Linked DNA regions of Homo sapiens: region 1 is linked to region 2. Evidence: promoter capture Hi-C in 16 types of primary human blood cells and fetal thymus (Javierre and others, 2016). All regions are on one chromosome and are shown on one strand. The core of a region is centred on a gene start or on the middle of the fragment in contact, and the rest is flanking DNA. Distances in the headings are between cores, read along the strand shown.

Region 1 (3,696 bases), core at 780-3,279, 180 kb before region 2:
TGAGTATATGTGAAAATGTATGTGTGCGAAGATGATTTGTGTGTATTTGTGTGTATGTATCTGTGTGTGTGGGTGTGTGTGGGTATATGAGTGTGGGTATGCGTGTGTCTATGTGTGTAAGTGTATATGTGTGGGTATGTGTTAAGTGTGTGGGATATGAGTGTATGAGTGTGTGATTATGAGTGTGTGAGAGTGTATGCGTGTGTATTTTGTGAATGTGTTTGTGGGTGTGAGTATACGTTAGTGTGAGTATATAAGTGTGTATGAGTGTGAATATGAGACAGTATATGTGTGTATATATGTGTGAGTGTATGTGTGTGTGTGGGTGTGAGTGTGTTAGAGTGTGCGTATATGAATGTGTGTGAATATGAGTGTGAGTGTATATAGGTGAGTGTGAGTGTGAGTGTATGTGTGTGGGAGTGGGAGTGTATGAGTGTGTGTATGTGTGTGAAGATGATTGTGTGTATTTGTGTATGTGTGTCTGCGTGTGTGGGTATATGAGTGTGTTAGTGTGTGTATGTGAGTGTGTGTGTAGATGTGTGGGTGTGTGTTAGAGCGTGTGGGTATGAGTGTATGTGTGTATGTGTGTGTGTAGATGTGTGTGAGTATATCTGGGTGTAAATGTGTGTGTGTTAGAGTGAGTGTATGAGTGTGTATGAGTGTGAATATGAGTGTGTGTGAGTGTATATATGTGTGAGTGTATGTGTGTGGGTGTGAGTGTATGAGTGTGAGAGTGTGATTCAGGTTGGAGAGCCTGTGTGTGTGTGTCTTTAGAGTCCCCAGTTAAAGGGCCAGGGCAGGAAGGTGTGTGTGTCGCTCACCTGGCCTAAGCTTGGGTGAGATGCTGAAGGCGCTGTGCTCAGAAAAGGCTATATGAGCCCCTGGGCCAAGCAGCCTCCTATGGAGCCTGATGACAAGGTTGTGGTCCCTACGGTCAGACGGCCTTGGCGCAGAGCCATGCTCTCCTGGTGGGCTCTGGCACTGGGGGCGGTGGGCTGGCATTGAAGAACATGGGCAAAGCTTCTCCTGAGCACAGAACAGCATTTGACAGTGTGGGGCTTCTGGGAGGACAGTGCAAGCAGGGGCAGAGGGAGAATGATCACGCGACTCCCTGAGTGGTCACAGGCTGATGAGGTCTGACGATGGAGGCTGTCAGTCAGAGTTCATCACAAGCAACAAAAACCACAGCTGGCTAATTTAAGCAGAAAAGGAATTTCTTAAAAGGACTTGGTCACTCACAGAATCTTCAGGTGGACCTGAGAATAAAACTTAGAGCCCGGCCGGTCGTGGTGGCTCACGCCTGTACTCCCAGCACTTTGGAAGGCCGAGGCCGGCGGATCACCTGAGATCAGGACTCCGAGCCAGCCTGACCAACATGGAGAAACCCCGTCTCTACTAAAAATACAAAAATTAGCCGGGTCCGTGGTAGCAGGCGCCTGTAATCCCAGCTACTCAGGAGGCTGAGGCAGGAGAATCGCTTGAACCCAGGAGGTGGAGGTTGAGGTGAGCCGAGATGGCGCCATTGCACTCCAGCCTGGGCAACAAGAGCAAAACTCCATCTCAAAAAAGAAAAAGAAAAAAAAAAACCAAAAAACTTAGAGCCCACCCAGCCAGGAAGCACAAAGAAAATCGCCCCATGGCCCTGGGACCACAAAGACCCCAGGCCTCCCCACCGCTGCTCCTGGGACACAGCCCCTGCTGCCGCTCCTCACACCGCCCTCAGGAGGGATCTGAGTGATCCCTTCTGCTCAGCAGTTCTCATTTCCTATTCAGAATCTGACGTGGGTGTACTTGGGGGCGACTTCCGGGTCACAGGCTTCCACCTCGCTTGCAAGGGATGCCGGGAAAGTGAGCTCCCAGCGTTTTCAGCTGCCTTGGGAGGAGAGTGGGCTCTGTTTTGTAAGGCAGGTGGATTCTCCAACATAGCCAGGGGCTACAGATGCTGGGAGGCCCAAAGAAATCAAATGTCCTTCCCACGTGAGTTACCATCACTAAGAAGGGCATTTGTGGGGTACCTTCTGTAAGCGGGGTGCTCTCGGTGCTTTTACACACCTAGGGAGTTTGCTGTTGGCCTGCGAAGACCCTTTATGGGACATGGATCAAAAGTGCTGTTCCTCGAGATACTTACCTCCAGTATAGGATCCTGGTGTCAAAAGGAATCAGATACGGCTCCATTGTACATGGCATGACTTGTATAGCCAGACAGAGCAGGTATATGTGAGTATGGACTTCATAAGCAATACTCAAGACCTCAAAAGTGTATCTTGGGGCCGGGCGTGGTGGCTCACACCTGTAATCCCAGCACTTCAGATGGCAGAGGCGGGTGGATCACCTAAGGTCAGGAGTTTGAGACCAACCTGGCCAACATGGCAAAACCCTGTCTCTACTAAAAATACAAAAATTAGCCGGACATGGTGGCACACACCTGTAATCCTAGCTACTTGGGAGGCCCAGGCAGGAGAATACTTGAAGCCGGGAGGTGGAGGTTGCAGTGAGCCGAGATTGCGCCATTGCTCTCTAGCCTGGGTGACCAAAAAAAAAAAAAAAAAAAAAAGTGTATCTTGGTCTATCAGTAACAACTGGATTTAGCAAAGATGTGGACTTCCCCAGCCTAATCTCTCGGCTACACCCATGTCTGTCTTGCAGGTGTGGAAACTTCTGGATGCCTGCTCTTGTGAGTTCACCTCTATGTCTACTCTACTGAGGCCTCTCCATACAGGTAGAGTGACTTGTGGGAGGCCTGTTACATCCTCAGGCCACACCTGGTAAGGGAAGCGCAGGTGGGTCCCACCTGCCCTGGTGCCCCCCTCAGGATACCTGGGGGTATATACTTTTTCTCATGCCACCCCCAGGCTCTGCCCAGATGGGGCTGACGACTGGTTTTTGGGCTGGCATCCGTGTTTCCGGGCGCTGCTTGCCCGTTCTCTCCCACCTGCCGGTTGAACCTTAATCTCCTTTTGGGTGCTATCTTCTGCGATGACGCATCCTTCCCCTCTCCAGGGCTTATGGCATCAGCTCTCTGCTCTCGAAGTTCAAAGCCAAGCTTTTTTGGACCTACACAAAAGATTTCTCTTTCAAAACTGGTTGTTGTAAGGGTATAGTCTCAGCTCTGGGTTTCAAAGCCTCTTTTGCAACTCAAAGCCAAGGATTTGACTCTTTGTTCTGAGTTTCCCTGGAGAGCAGGGAATATAGGAAACCAACTTAGCATATGAATGCAAGTCAATGGATATAAGGAAATTGTCTACAGTGGAATAAGTTAGTATCTCAAAATGACAGCATTCAGCTCCCATACACTGTCACTGACGCTTTGTGATAATCCTTTGAGAAAGGGTGATTTTGCCCGATCCAGAGCTGAGACTAGGGTGAGGGGGGGCAAGGCACTTGCTCTAGACACCATATTTAAAGAAGTGCCAAAAAAACCCACCTCCATAATTAAGTAATAGTTTGATGCAATCATTGTAAAAGTAAAAATTATTGCCAAAAATCCATGATGAAAAAAAATCAAAATTTTAAACGAAGATGAGATTCGTGTTACTGATTTTTCCTTTGCTCGAAGGTTCCAATAATGGCTCCACACAGCACTGGCACTTGGCACTGATCTGTTTTTTTTTTCCTTTTTTTTTGAGACAGAGTCTCACTCTGTCACCCAGGCTGGAGTGCAATGGCACAATCTCAGCTCACTGCAACCTCCACCTC
Region 2 (3,886 bases), core at 194-2,693:
AGTTGTCCCTTAAAGCCTCCCCTGATCTCTGCCCTTCCTGAGCCTTGAGGAATTCAACTCCTCCTTGAATCCCCTGAGGTGCCCCACTGGGTATATGCGCCCACTCCTCATTTTCCTTGTTACCTACGTGAGTTTGCTTTCTAAATAATCACAGGTAACACAGAACTCCTTCCAGAAGTGGCTCCATCTGCTTCAATAAAAGGCAGTCCTGGCCTCACAGTCTCATTTCCAACCCAAATGTCCACGTAATTTTCAGACCGAGGCTTCTGCTCAAGCCGGGCACCCCACTACCCACACCTCCTTGTTCACCTATGGCTCCCACTTCTACTGAACTGCGCGATCACTGTGATTTTGGGGGTGGCAACAGGGCCTAGGAAACATTTTAGAGGCACTTCTCTTGCCTGAAAGAAAACGTTCTTCCCCTTTTTGTCTCTGATGAATCTTTACTGGATCTTTGGGACCCAGCTGAGTCATCCCGACCTGCAGACTGGACTCCCATCCCCAGGCTTAAATTCCTTTCCAAGGGCTCTGTCTGTCCTCTCGGCTTAGCTTCTGTGTTAAAACCCCCTCCATCTGCGTCTCCTCCCCAGCAGAATGAGCTCCTTGAAGTCAGGGCCCGCCTTCTGCTCCTCTCTGTGCTCCACTCCCCCAGTTCAGCACAGTGCTCCCAGGGAGGTGTAAGCGACTTACGGTGAATGAAAGGGCGTGAAGGGGAACAGGAGGGGCGGTTTTCTTCATTTACCAGAAATTCAAAATTGACCAAGTAAACCCCTTTGGAGACCAGGCACGATGCTGGGCACTGGGAACGGGGGTAGGGGTGGGGGGTGGGGGGGTGGTAGGGAGGAGGGGGTACCCAGGGTACCCACGGGCTCTGTCGCCCGTGGGGAAGGATGGGCATTTACCCTTCCCATTCATCAGGATGGGAGGGCCACGGACTCCCCCCACGGCAGTGCCGGGTAGACCCCTGCACCACACCGTGCCAAGGCCCTTTCTCACAGTCACGCCAGGAACTCTAGCCATGCTCTGACTTCTCAAGCAGAGTTCAGTCACCCCGAGGAGGTGGGACCCGTCTCTCTCCTCCCCACAAATGAACCAGTTCTCCAGTGATCCTACTTCCTTTTTTCCCTCTCCCACGCTAAAACTGGTCACGAGGGACCTAAAGGAGGGGCAGGCACCCAGGCGGCTCCCTTCCCCGCACGCATCGCGGCCAGTCCAGCCCCTCCCGGCCGCCCACGGGACCCCAGCCGAGCCTGAGCCAGGCGCCCACCGCCCCCACGCGCAGGGCCGGCGCCCGCGGAAGACTCGGCTCTCCCTGGCCTCGACGCCGCTCCCCTCCCTGGCGCCAGGGGGCGCTGCCTCCCCACGACCGTCGCCATGGTCACCGCTGGCGGCGGAGAGGGGTTTACGTAAAGGACGCAGCGTCCCCCGGGGGGCGGAGGCGGCCTTCGCGCCGGCGCCGGCGCCCTGCGGAAGCGGCGTTAGTGAATCGGGGCCTTGGGGAGCCCAGGATGGAGGTGGCGGTCGCGGCGGCGGGCCGAGCCCTGCGGCGGGCGGGAGGTAAGGGGGGCCTCCGGCGCGGCGGGCCGGTCCTGGGCGCGGGCGCGGTGCGAGCGGCGCGGCGGGCTGGGCAGTGTCCAGGGCGCGCGGTGGCCGGCCCGACGGGTCGGCGGGCGGAGTTGCAGCTGCCACGCGCGCCCGTGGCAGGTGTGAGGTCTGTGGAGCCCCTGGCACCAGCGTGGGGATGGTGACACGCGTGGCACGGGCGTGGGCAACGTGGGTCCGGCACAGGCGGCGTGGTTTTCCTGGAACGGGTCTCAGAAGACTCGCCTCCACCTTGGTGCGGTGGTGGCCACGCAGGTGTGAGGTGGTGCAGCTGTCTGCACAGGTAGGTGATGGGCACGGCCTTCGGACTGGTTATGGGATAGGTGGCCAGCTCGTGCCGGCATGGTGGTGCCGCTAGCATGGGTGTGAGGAAGTGCTGCCATTGCTTGGGTGTTGGGATGGTTCTGGCCTTGGGCTTGACATGATCTGGGGTGATAGCACTGGGGGCTTGAAGAATTGGTGTTCTCAGCATGGCTAGAGTTCCTGGCATGACTGTGAGAAAGGGCCTTGGCACGGTGTGGTGCGGGGGGCTACCCGGCACTGCCGCGGGGGGAGTCCGTGGCCCTCCCATCCTGATGAATGGGAAGGGTAAATGCCCATCCTTCCTCACGGGCGATGAAGGGGACACTGCCTCTGTCATGGGGGTCCAGTTTTAATGCCTGTTGGGTACACTGGACTGAGGAGGGCAGAAGGCTGGGAGAAGGTTGGTGTCCTTTATAATGGGCATAAACAAGAGATGCCAGGAGAAGCTTCTACCACAAGGGCCCTGATGGTAACCCAGATAGAGACCTTCCAGGCACTACCGTTGTCCTGGGCTAAGGTAGAGAGAACCATTCATCTAGCTTTTCATCTAGCTTTGGGAATGAAGGGAGGGGTGGATGATTTTCAGTGGTGATCGGTGTCCCAGAATATGTCCTGAGAAGCAAGCAGGACCAAGAGGTAACCCGGGTCAGCGAGTGAGGGAGTGGTATGGCGCACCATCTATCTGTAGTCACGGGGTCCTGCCTTCTCCCTGGGTTGATGGGTTCACTCCAGGGTATCTGGGAGTTGCCTCTCTTCTTTGATGCTGGGGAGCCTTTGGGTCCAGAGGATTGGATCGATTGGGGTATGCTTGAAAGATGATTCTGCAGCCACTGGGAATCTGCTGGGGCCACCGGGACTCCCACCCCCAGGCTTAAATTCCTTTCCAAGGGCTCTGTCTGTCCTCTCTGCTTAGCTCCTATGTTAAAACCCCTCCATCTGCGCTGAGATTGTGTTTGCTCTCACCAGTCCTTTGGGAAGCTTTGGGTGAAGGTCTCACTCAGCATCACCTAGTGCCTTACTTTACAGAGAAGCAATTTGCAGCTCCTCCTAGAGAAGTCTTACAGTGTAGGGGAAATCTTCAGTTCTTTGTGGATCTCTTGGGGGAGTGGGATCAGTGGTAGAAGAATCACAGGGTTGAGCTTGTGCTGGGGAAGGCACTTATGAGTCCAAAAAGATGATGTTGAGGGTAGGGTGGCAGGTGGTCGCCAAATTGCCAAGGTGGGTGCTTGGAGATGCTGATGAGTTCCCTATAACCGGAGCACTGTCCGATGCCTTTGGAGCCATATCACTTTAATTCCAGTGTTGGCTGTGTGACCTTCAGCAGGTGACTTCACCAATCAAGGCATGTCACATGGTGGTCTGGTAGTAAAGAATGAAAGGAAATGGTGCACGTGGAAACACTTTGCAAACAGCGAAAGACTGTACAAAGGTCAGAGAGTCTCATCAAGTAAAGAGACCAGGGCTGGAGGCAGGAGCCATAGGAAATGGTGGCACGGGATGTGATTGGGAGGAAGGGAGCCGGAAGGTTGAGGGCCTGTCATAGGGAATTAGAGGCCCTGAGCGCACATGCTCCCGGTGGGGGCAAGTGGGATCTGTTGACACTGTGAGTCAGCTGCTGAGCTGGAACCAGGCCCCCGGTCTCCAGAGGACAGTCCTGAGCATGGCCCCGGCAGCTGTGAAGTCCTGCAGGAGTGGCCCAAGCAGGAGGAAGCACTTTGCTTGGGCAGCAGACGTGCCTCATTGCCAGGGTAGGTCTGGGAGGTGTCTGTGGCTGACAGATCTAGGGTACCTGTGTGGGAGGAAGACTTGGGAAGTGTGTGTGTTTTCTCTGGAGAATTTCCTTTGGCTCTGGGTTCTGAGAACGGGGGTGGGGAGCAGTCACATCAGCGTCTTTTGGGCTGTGGCCTGAAGGAAATGAAGTGGGTCAGAGCATCCACAGATCGATGTGGCTCAGGTCTGGATGGTTCTGCGGGAGGTTGAG

Evidence for each region. Contacts are between HindIII fragments. The CHiCAGO score rates a contact against its expected background, and 5 or more counts as called.
Region 1: a fragment that was not itself captured here is called in contact with the fragment with the promoter of DAGLA in region 2 in 1 of 17 cell types (endothelial precursors); the score reaches 5.2 in endothelial precursors.

Annotation. Positions count from the first base shown.
Region 1 is chr11:61,497,117-61,500,812 of GRCh38, forward strand. It overlaps LOC105369329 (a long non-coding RNA gene), which reads left to right. Exons shown (of 3, transcript NR_188527.1): 2 at 2,647-2,719. Among named protein-coding and RNA genes, the nearest start is that of MIR4488, 9.6 kb to the right of the region's middle. RefSeq lists a silencer at 2,047-2,247. The HindIII fragment of the contact is 2,023 bases long and covers 1,019-3,041 here.
Region 2 is chr11:61,678,948-61,682,833 of GRCh38, forward strand. It overlaps DAGLA (diacylglycerol lipase alpha), which reads left to right and starts at 1,444. Exons shown (of 20, transcript NM_006133.3): 1 at 1,444-1,557. RefSeq lists an enhancer at 3,641-3,886. The HindIII fragment of the contact is 3,213 bases long and covers 1-2,349 here.